Regions from separate parts of the Homo sapiens genome. Here all the other regions are linked to region 1. Evidence: promoter capture Hi-C in 16 types of primary human blood cells and fetal thymus (Javierre and others, 2016). All regions are on one chromosome and are shown on one strand. Each heading gives the region's core, a stretch centred on a gene start or on the middle of the fragment in contact. The rest is flanking DNA. Distances are from core to core; before and after follow the strand shown. Region 1 holds the start of C1QL3 (complement C1q like 3). Region 2 has its middle 150 kb from the start of MINDY3. Region 3 has its middle 170 kb from the start of LINC02654.

Region 1 (3,437 bases), core at 411-2,910:
GTCGCGCTCGCAGGGGCGCGCACCGATCGAGGGTCCCAGACTCCGGAACTGCCCTCTCCAGGCCGCGGGGCGCCCTCCTGCGCGCACGACCCCCGCCTCTCCAGGGTGGGACGGCGTCCCCCCTTGCCGTCGCTCCAGGGAGCCCGGCCGCCGCGCCCTTCCTCCGCGGGCTCCCACCCCCATTTCCGGGGTCTCCTCCCTCTCGCCCGCACCTTCCCGCGCTCCCTCCCCGCCCTCCCCGCCGCCCGCCCGCGCTCACCTGGTTGTTTTTGCAGAGATCAGCCCACATGCTGGTGCCGTCCCCTCCGCGCATCAGGACGTGGTAGGTGAAGAAGTAGATGCCCGGGATGGAGCAGGTGAACTTGCCGGTGGTGGGGTCGTAGTGGTTTCCGAGGTTGGTGACCACGTCGTCGAACTTGAGCACCTCGTAGCCTTCATGCTGCCGCTTGAGGCCGGCGTAGAAGGCGATCTTGGGCACCGTGCTGTAGGTGGCGGCGCTGATGGCCCCGGCCGCGTTCAGGCCGGGCGCCCCGGGCGGGCCCGGCAGGCCTTGGCGGCCCGGCTCGCCCTTCTCGCCCGGGGGCCCCATGGGGCCGGGTGGCCCGGGCTCTCCGGGGGGCCCGCGCGGACCCGCCTTCCCGGGCCTGCCGGCCTCGCCTTTGGGGCCCTGGATGAAGGTGGGCAGGGACTGCATGAGGCCGCGGTCGGGCGTGGCAGCGGTGCTGGGCGCCTTGGTGCCCCCGTAGGGGTCGCAGACCATGCGGCAGGTGCCCAGCATCTCGTAGTGCGCCGACGTGCCGGCCGAGCTCACCAGCACCGGGATGAGGATCACCAGCAGCAGCACCATCACCACCCCCAGCGCCCCGGCGGCGATCAGGCGCCTCCTGCTGCCCACCAGCCGGCTCAGCGCGGGGCGATCCTCTTGTCTGCTTTTGGACAGAATTTTGAAGGTTGGGCGGGGACCTCTTCAGAGCCGAAAACAACCCCCTGCGAACCCCAACTCCCCTGGGCGTGCGTGCGCCGGCCGCTGCTGCCGACTCCTGCTCCCCCCGCGGAGGCTGCGGCTGGGGAGGGAGCGCGGGCGCCCAGTGACTTGAGCCGAAGTCCCGAGCCCGGGGTGGGGGCCGGGGGAGGGGTGCGCGGGGCGCCCTCGCCCCCCGCGAGCTCCTTCGCACCTGTGGCTGCAGCCGGCGCCGGCGCGGCCACCGGGAGGGCAGAGCCAGCCGCCGCCTCCTGAGCTCGCCCGGGCAGCTCACACTTTTATGCCGCCGCCGCCTGCGATCGACTTTTCCGTTTTTGCAGACTGCGCCTGTTCGCACCAACTTTCCGTCTGAAGTTGCCTTTTTCTGCCTCCTCCTCCTCTTCTTTCGCTCGCTCAGTTCGCCCGTCCGCTGCCTTTTTTTTTTATTGCCTCCTTTCTCTCTTCCTCCTTTGCCACCACCACAACTCGAATAGACGCGCACCCCAAAGCCCCGCGTGGGCCCGGGCGTCCCCCGGGTGCGCCCAGCGGCGGCGGCGGCGGGCACGGTCGGCACGGCGAGGCTCAGAGCTGGGGCGGAGGAGCGAGCGAGCAGCGGCGAGCGCCTCACGGCCGGGAGCGGAGCGAGAGAGAGACTGAAGGCAGAATTCTGCCTGGGTACCACCTGCCAGGAGAAGAGGAGGCTGACAAACGCGCGCCGGAGCAATTTATAGGCACCCAAGGCACAGAGGAAGGGGAGCCGCTTTGGCATCTCATTGCAGCATCTGCTCTGCTCATCCCACTCAGAGAGAGTTTGGCATTACTCTGACAATGTGGGATTTTTTTTTTTTTTTCGGCCTCTCTTTTTTTCTCTCTCTGCACATGGATGAACAGTGAGATTCTGAATACTCCCTTGCTGAACCAAGCGATGGCAGGTCCTGCTGGACCCACCTGGGGAAGGGAGACAGCTGTGCGACAGCTTTCAGAGCTCAAGGGTCACACCTAAATCCCCGATTTCCCCACTGCCAGCAGCCCCAGTTGGAGGGTGGAGGTGAAGGTTGAAAGGAGGGTGGCTGAGTTGACAGTTTCTTTGCTAGCTCCTCTACAATCAGTGCTTCAGGTGTTTTCAAAATGCCACTGTTAACAGAAGGAGGGCCTTTTAGAATTTTCCAGATGGTAGATGTGATTTTCTTTTAACCTGATGGTTTTCCTCCTCTGCCTTGTAAATGAATAAGATGTTGCCCCAAGAACAGTGAGGTATGTTGAAAAGCCAAAGAACATTTGTGAATGATTTTAAATGAACATGTCCACCGCCTCTGGGGGAGGAGGGGGTTGGTCCTTTTTACAAATGCTGCACCGTGGTGAGTGCATACATACGTACTGTGCTTACAGTCTTACAGTTCTAGCAGTCTTTCGGGGGATACCGCCAATGGCCCTGAAGTTGCGTTTACTTAAAGTCGCTAAATGTACAAGAAATAACCACTTGTCAAAATGGCGTCAAAAGATCAAGCAAGAAGCTTTTGCACAAGTGCTGGGCAAGGTCTTTTCCTAGCATATGGAAAGAGTTCTATAAGCTCCATAGCAGATTTCCCGAATATACATTGAGGGAGGGGAGAAGTAGGAGAAATACAAGAAAGAAGAGCCCCCATTCTCAGTGGGTGAGCTGCAGAAGGAACAGCATGGTTTATCATATTACTGGAAGGCCTCCAGGGTAGATATCAGGCAAGTTACCCCACCAACAAATACATAAGACACACAAGAATGGCTTTAAATAAATAAGTAGAATTGAATCCTAAATCATACTTTTGCATTCAGGAGCAACAGATGTCAATCAAACGTGGGTGACATTTGCTTGTCAATACGAGGATGATGGCTGGGAAGACGGTGACTTATTACATCAGGGTGAGAATCTGAAATGAGAAAAGCAGGAACAAATAAGACTACAGCAAGCAAACAGTAACATCCTGGGTGACGATCAGCAGCCTGTGATCTTGTCTGCGGGTGTCACAGCATGGACTTCTCCTTTCCTCCCTGTGCCTCAATCTCCCCGCCCCCCAGCCTACTCCAGTCCACCCCACCAATTTAGTTCTTTCTTTCTTTCTTTCTTCTCTGTTTCAAAACAAAATAAGGTCAAACGAGCAGACAGAAGGAAACAAAGACTGAATGATTCTTTTAAGAGAAATGTCAGTAGCTCCTTCAGGCCTTGGCTGGGAGAATCAACCCTAAAAGCTGTGCTGTGTGGCTCAGCGGGGTGGGGGTCTCCACCTCCTGGCTACTGAGAGAGCCACACTGCTCCTGGTATTGGAAAATAGGGCTTCCCACTTCTCAAGCCCTTAACTTTTATTTTAGGGTAGTGGTTTTATAAATGCGCGCCTATTGCTTGGGCATAATTATACACATAGTTCCATAATATTTTTGTTCACATGAGCTGCCTTATTTTCATATTTTTAAGGAGCAAACACATAATAAGTTGTCTCCT
Region 2 (3,437 bases), core at 497-2,996, 510 kb before region 1:
TGTGTGCAGAAAGAATTGGGAGCAAAAATGAATCACTGCATCCTGGACTCTCCGTGTGAGCTGCTGTCACTGTTTCCGCCCATTCTAGTGGCTCCCCTGAGCCTGGCATTGCTCCAGACTCGGTGGGTGCCCACCCAGCTGCTGCCATCCCCTCACCTTCCTCCTGTGGCTGTAAGCTGAAGAGTGTTGGGGAAGTGACTCAAAAATAAAACTGTTTATCCCGGCCCTGCGTAAATAAATGTCACTTCACTCTTCCCTGCCTCTGAATCACTGATATCCTGTATTTCGCTGATCTTGTTTATCCTTGAAGTTGTCCTCAAACATTTCCCAGTCTCCTGAATTGCATACAAAAATAACGAATATTTTTAAAAGTGTAATTGCTGTTGTTTGTTATTTTGTCCTGCCACTGTGCTTCCTTATGCCATCTGGACTGGAGGTGGACTTGTTAAAAAAACACCCAGAAAGGACACTCTCACTAATTTGAGCCTTAAAGAGAGAAGGAAGTCCTTAGTCTCTCTCCCCAGCAAACAGATCTTTATAGAGTTTCCTGGCCGCACAGGCAGCCAAGATGTTGCTAAATCTGGGAAGCTTATCGAGAGCAGTCTGAGACTTCTCTCCACAACTGTGTTCAGTTACACATGGTCTGTTTGTTGCTTTAAATGAACATCACAAGCATAATCATAACATACACCTGTATGGAACTGTGCACTTTTCAAATTAGTTCCACACACAAGGCAGAATTTCATCATCCCCAAAACTCTGAAGTCCTGAGACTCAGAGAGTCTATATGATCAAGGAGAAAAGCATGTCAAGTCGAATGGTGCCAGGACTTCCAATTCCCCATCCAGTGCTCTGCACCAGTGTGGATCATCTTCAGCAGGCTTCACCACTGAGACGTGAGATATGACTTTGCCTACAACAGCAATTAGGAGGGGGGAAATGAAAAGGTCAATTTCCACCCCACATTGATAGATACATGATTGAGTCATTATTTCTCTGTGCCAAAGCTGGAACAAACTGTATCCAGCAGAGTTCCTTTTAAGGAGAGCATTGTGTGTGTGTGGACAATGTTACTATGTTTGCCAGGCTGGTCTTGAACTCCTGACCTCAAGTGATCTGCCCACCCCAGCCTCCCAAAGTGCTGGAATTATAGGTGTGAGCCACCGTGCTTGGCTATGTTCTGTATTATAAAGATCTCCCTGATCCAGCAAATCTGCAGGCAAATAATGAAGCACATGGAAAGGCTGGGTCAGGTGCATGTCTTTTGGACAATGTGTGGATCCCCCAAATCTGCAGGTAAAGAATGAAGCACATGGAAGAGCTGGAGTGGGTGCATGTCTTTTGGACAACAGGTGGATACTTTGTGTCGCTATTTAAAAGGGTAGAAACACCTGGGGGCTGAGAGATGACTAAAAATTCAATTAGGCCAGGTGCAGTGGTTCATGACTGTAATCCCAGTATTTTGGGAGGCTAAGAAAGGTGGATGGCTTCAGCCCAGGAGTTTGGGACCAGCCTGGGCAACATAGCAATACCCTGTCTCTAAAAAAAAAAAAAAATACAAAAATTAGCTAGGTATGGTGGCATGCACCTGTAGTCCCAGCCACTTGGGAGGCTGAGGTGGGAACGTCACTTGATCTCAGGAGGTTGAGGCTGCAGTGAGCTGTGATCATGTCATTGCACCCTAGCCTGGGTGACAGAGCAAGACCCTGTTTTTTTGTTTGTTTGTTTGCTTTTGCTTTTTCTAAAAAAAAAAAAAATAGAGAATTCAATCAAGGATGCCAGAAAAGTTGTGCAAGTTCTCTGAACTGTCACAGGTTGTGGGTTTGGGATTTAAGCCAAGTTCAACCACATTTATGAAGGGCAGGAGGTATCAGCAGGCATCTGGGTTACTTTAGAAATCAGAGTGCATTTTCAAAGTACTTATTTGTATGTCTTTGATCCAGTGTCTAATTAAATACACAAAAGAAAACCATGTGTATATACATATACAAATATACACACACACAATTTCCTTAGAATAATTGAGAAAAATGTGTCATTGTGATATAGAATTTTAGTTTAAGTGGGGAAGAACATTACAGTTTCACTTGCACTCTCTTGAAAAGGGAACTTTAGCTAATAATGAGTCCATGCTCACTGGAGACATTTAAGAAGACACTGATGAGATCTGTGGAGGATATTATAGAGGCAGCTCCTTCACTGGCTAGAACACTGATTCCCATCAACTCTAAAATCTGTCCTTTATTTTTTTAATTACAAGAGAAAAACAAAGGGCATGAAGCCTTCAGAAATTCCACCTAAGGTAATTTCTAAATCTTAATAACACAAAAGACAAGCATAGCAAAGAATTTAAGTGTAATTTGGCCTTAACTTTCAATTTCTGACAGGGTTAGATATTTTCTCCACTGAGTCGTCTGATAGTTTGATGCTGAAGCTCTTTACCCTTTGACTCAGATGACTGGATTCTGAATGAAAGGGCTGGGGCAGGTTTTATACACTCATAGTAGCATTTTCAGATCTTTTATTTCACAACAAAGACGCACCTTTCCTCTTCCTTATTATTGCTGATGATGCGAAGAGAGGCAGGGAAGTGCTGAATGAAAAGAGATGCATGTCTAATTTTCATTGCAAGAGAGACACTGTACAAAGTGTTTTACAAAGTGGAAAACTCAAGGATTAAAAAAAACACCCAAACAACAACAAAACCCCTCCTTCAATTTTGTCTAACACCAAACCATGAGATTGAGCCCAGCCAATAGATTGTGATTCCAGGTGAAGACCGCAGGCAGGCACAACTAGTACCATGCAGCATGTGGAAACTGTGAAATGTAGGGTAAAACTGCAGAATTTAAAGTCACACATTGATAAGATCACAAGGTGGAACTCTTTGAGACAGGAAGAAAGCAAGCTTAGGTAGAACTGACCTCTGAAATGAAGGAAGAGAAGAAGGGACAAGAAACTCTGGGAACGTGAAGGGGGCATCACAGGCAGTCAAGAAATAGGATAAGTGTATTTGCTTCCTTTTGCTGCTGTGACAAGTAACCACAAACTTAGTGGTTTAGAGCAATACAAGTTTATGATCCTACAGTTCTGAAGGTCAAAAGTCCAAAATCACTCTCAGGGGGCTAAGTTCACACTATTGTCTGGCCTGTGTTCCTTCTGGAGGCTCCAATGGAGAAAACATTCCTTGCCTTTTCCAGCTTGTAGAGGCTGCTGATATTCCTCAGCTCATGGGGTGCTATGGTTTGGCTGTGTCCCCACCCCAATCTAATCTTGAATTGTAGCTCCCCTAATTCCCACATGTTGTGGGAGGGACCAGGTGGGAGGTAATTCCCATCAAGGTAGATAATTCCCATCAAGGAGGTAATTGAAGTGGGGCGGGGGGTGGGGGGGGCAGTTTCCCCCATACTGTTCTTGTGGTAGTGAATAAGATTCAC
Region 3 (3,437 bases), core at 633-3,132, 410 kb before region 1:
ACCAATTACACTTTTATTTCAGATTTGTGATAGACAAAACAGATATTCTCTGATTCCTTAACATCAGTGAAGAGCTACATCTAGGACCCAGAGTTTACAGTTTATCACTCCATTTAATCTTTCCACCATCCAATAGATTAGCCTTTCTACTACAGTCAGATCTTCTAATGTTGAAAGAAAGAAAGGGAGAAGCAGAGGACGGGAGGAAAAGATAGATCAAACTTTTTTTTTTTTTTTTGAGATGGAGTTTCACTCTTGTCGCCCAGGCTGGGTACAATGGCGCGATCTTGACTCACTGCAACCTCCGCCTCTCAGGTTCAAGTGATTCTCCTGCCTCAGCCTCCTGAGTAGCTGGAATTACAGGTGCCCCCCATCACGCCCAGCTACTTTTTGTATTTTTAGTAGAGATGGGGTTTCGCTACTTTGGCTAGGCTGGTCTTGAACTCCTGATCTCAGGTGATCCACCTGTCTCGGCCTCCCAAAGTGCTGGGATTACAGGTGTGAGCCACCGCTCCCGGCCAAATCAAACTATTTTTTTTCCCCACCAGTTGTGCTATCAATGTTGGAAACTAAATCCTTTGTGGTAGATTGAAAATAGCTCCCCAATGATGTCCACAACCTAATCTCCAGAAATAGTAACATATTACCTTATATGGTAAAAAGGACTTGCTAGATGCGATTAAGTGAAGGATCTTGAGTAAGGGAGGTTATCCTAGATTATGCACGTGGGTCCACAGTGATCAAAAAGGCCCTTATAAGAAGGTGCAAGAGCATCATTGTCAAAGAGAAAGAATAAGTAGGGACAGAAATGGAGGTTAAAAAGGAGGTAATATGCTACATTTCTGGCTTTTCAAGATGTAGGAAGAGCCACGAGTCAAATGATGCAGGCAGTGTCTAGATTACAGAAGTGTCCAATCTTTCTGCTTCCCTGGGCCACATTGGAAGAAGAAGAATTGTCTTGGGCCACACATAAAATACACTAACACTAGCAATAGCTGATGAACAAAAAAAAAAAAAAAAGAAAGAAAAAGAAAAAGAAAAAAGAAAGAAAAGAAAAATTGCAGGCATGGTGGCTCACGCCTGTAATATCCCAGTGCTTTGGGAGGCTAAGGCTGGCGGATCACCTGAGGTCAGGAGTTCGAGACCAGCCTGGACAACATGGTGAAACCCCATCTCTACTAAAAATACAAAAATTAGCCAGGCATGGTGGCGGGTGCCTGTAATCCCAGCTACATAGGAGGCTTAGGCAGGAGAATCGCTTGAACCCGGGAGGCGGAGGTTGGAGTGAGCTGAGATTATGCCAATGCACTCCAACCTGGGTGACAGAGCAAGACTTCATCTTGAAAAAAAAAATTGCAAAAAAAATCTCATAATGTTTTGGAAAGCTTACGAATTTGTGTTGGGCCGCATTTAAAGCCATTCTGGGCTGTATATGACCCATGGACTGCAGGTTGGACAAGTTTACTCTAGAAGCTGGAAAAAGCAAGGAGATGGATTCTTCCTCATTGCCTCCAGGGAGAACGAAGCCTTGCTGTCACCTTCAACTTATCCCAGTGAAACTGATTTGGGACTTTTGGCCTCCAGAACTATAAAATCATAAGTTTGTGTTGTTTTAAGCCACTAAACTTATGGCCATTTTTTTACAGCAGCAATAGAAAACTAACACACCATTGAAAAGGTGATCTTGCGCATGTGAATCATGTTTCAAGTGGTTAGTGAACAAAGTGTCCCTAGAGTGCTATGAATGAGGGGGGCGGGGGGGGGGGCCGGAGTAGGGGCAGCAATCTCCACTTTGACCCTCTTGGTGTAGAGACAAGCAGACTGCACTGCCCCAGAACATATTACCCAATGGCTGCAATTCTGAATGTGGGCTGGTGTGCCTTGGGAAAGGGATAGGAACCTGCTGTGTGTGGAACTAAAAGGCTCTTAGTAAACAATAGACCCACCTTCCCTAACAGTCCCATACTCAGATTGACATAAACCAATAATCATTATGCAACTATGTCAGGTCTCATTTTTGGTGTTTTAAAATAGGATTGATATGACAGTAGCGTTCTAGAAAATAGATCCTTAGAAAACAAGAATATTTAAAGGGAAGGCATAACGCAGAATGAGTAAACTGTGTAGGAGAATACATGTTATGGGGTGAGAGAAGCAGATGCTAAAGAAAAATACCTCTAATTGAAACAAAAATCATGTACACATAAAAAAGCACAAGTACAAATTTTGAAAATATTTCCTAAAAGACTCACCAAAACCAGTTTTTAATGGTTCCCAAAATATTTTGGTGTGGCTTACCATAATACTTCATAATCATATCAAATTTCAGCTAAATGTTACATTACCAAATTGTCGAATTAAATTTTACATTGTTCCCTGAAAGCTTTATGAAGGTATTTCATTAATACCATTGACCCTCGGCATGGTACAGAAGAAAGAGTACAAGATCTAAAAGCACACAGCTGCCTTGTGTCTTTGGACAAGTGACATAATTTCCCTGGGCTACAGTTATCTAATTTATAAAATGAGGGTTGCAAAGTCTCCACTTCATAGGATGTTAAAAGCCTTACAATAAATAATGCCTATAATATTTCTTTTAAAATCTGACACAGAGGCCACTAAATGTTCCTCTCAAAAGACTTCAGAGGTCAATAAAAGAGCTTAATGAGATTACAATAATATAAGTCAGGTGGGCAGGAGCAAGGACCTGAAATGAAACTTATTCATTGAGCCAAGATGGGGACATAGGAGAGAAGTGATCCAGATACAAATACCCAAGGGCCATGCAATCTGGGAATCTGAGTGCTTTTTCCAAGGCATCTTCTCATCATGTTCACTTTCAGTCCAGGCAAGCAATTGACACTATGGAATCCAAGCTGATAATGAGTTCGGAGGTATAAACAGGTTGGCGAAGTACAATGTAGAATGTCTACCCATCAAGAAAGGGTACCAGCCAGGACATAAGACAAGAACCAGGCAGCTTCTCATAAAGAAAATTGGGAAAGACAGATCAAGGCTAAGTCCAATTATAATAACTGGGACATGTCAAGGGGAGCAAGGGTTGGGTCAGAGCTCAGGAACTAAGTGAAAGCTCATTTATATCGGGGTCAGGAGAGAGTAAGGGAACCTAAAATCAAGGCTGGGCACGAGGCTCATGCCTGTAATCCTAGCAGTTTTAGAGGTCTAGGTGGGAGGATCGCTTTAGGTCAGGAGTTTGAGACCAGCCTGGGCAGCATAGCAAGACCCCATCTCAAAGAAGAAAGAACGAAAAAGAAGGAGGAGAAGAAAATAAATACATAAAATACAATCAGGTAAAAATCCTTCTGTCCAGCCAGGATTAGTCTAAGTAACAAGGAAAAGTATCCAGTCTATTGGTAGTATCAAGGAAAAATTATACTGATCAGAATTAAACAGGCAAGAAAAACGTTATTCAAGAC

The links. Contacts are between HindIII fragments. The CHiCAGO score rates a contact against its expected background, and 5 or more counts as called.
Region 2: a fragment that was not itself captured here is called in contact with the fragment with the promoter of C1QL3 in region 1 in 1 of 17 cell types (endothelial precursors); the score reaches 5.5 in endothelial precursors.
Region 3: a contact is called between a fragment that was not itself captured here and the fragment with the promoter of C1QL3 in region 1, in 1 of 17 cell types (endothelial precursors). The highest score is 5.3, in endothelial precursors.

What each region holds. Positions count from the first base shown.
Region 1 is chr10:16,520,219-16,523,655 of GRCh38, forward strand. C1QL3 (complement C1q like 3) reads right to left here and starts at 1,661. Exons shown (of 2, transcript NM_001010908.2): 1 at 260-1,661. The coding sequence starts at 847. RefSeq lists an enhancer at 1-212 and silencers at 512-571, 882-1,101, 1,372-1,601. The HindIII fragment of the contact is 3,157 bases long and covers 1-2,473 here.
Region 2 is chr10:16,009,911-16,013,347 of GRCh38, forward strand. No RefSeq gene overlaps it. Among named protein-coding and RNA genes, the nearest start is that of MINDY3, 150 kb to the left of the region's middle. The HindIII fragment of the contact is 2,320 bases long and covers 587-2,906 here.
Region 3 is chr10:16,109,695-16,113,131 of GRCh38, forward strand. No RefSeq gene overlaps it. Among named protein-coding and RNA genes, the nearest start is that of LINC02654, 170 kb to the right of the region's middle. The HindIII fragment of the contact is 998 bases long and covers 1,384-2,381 here.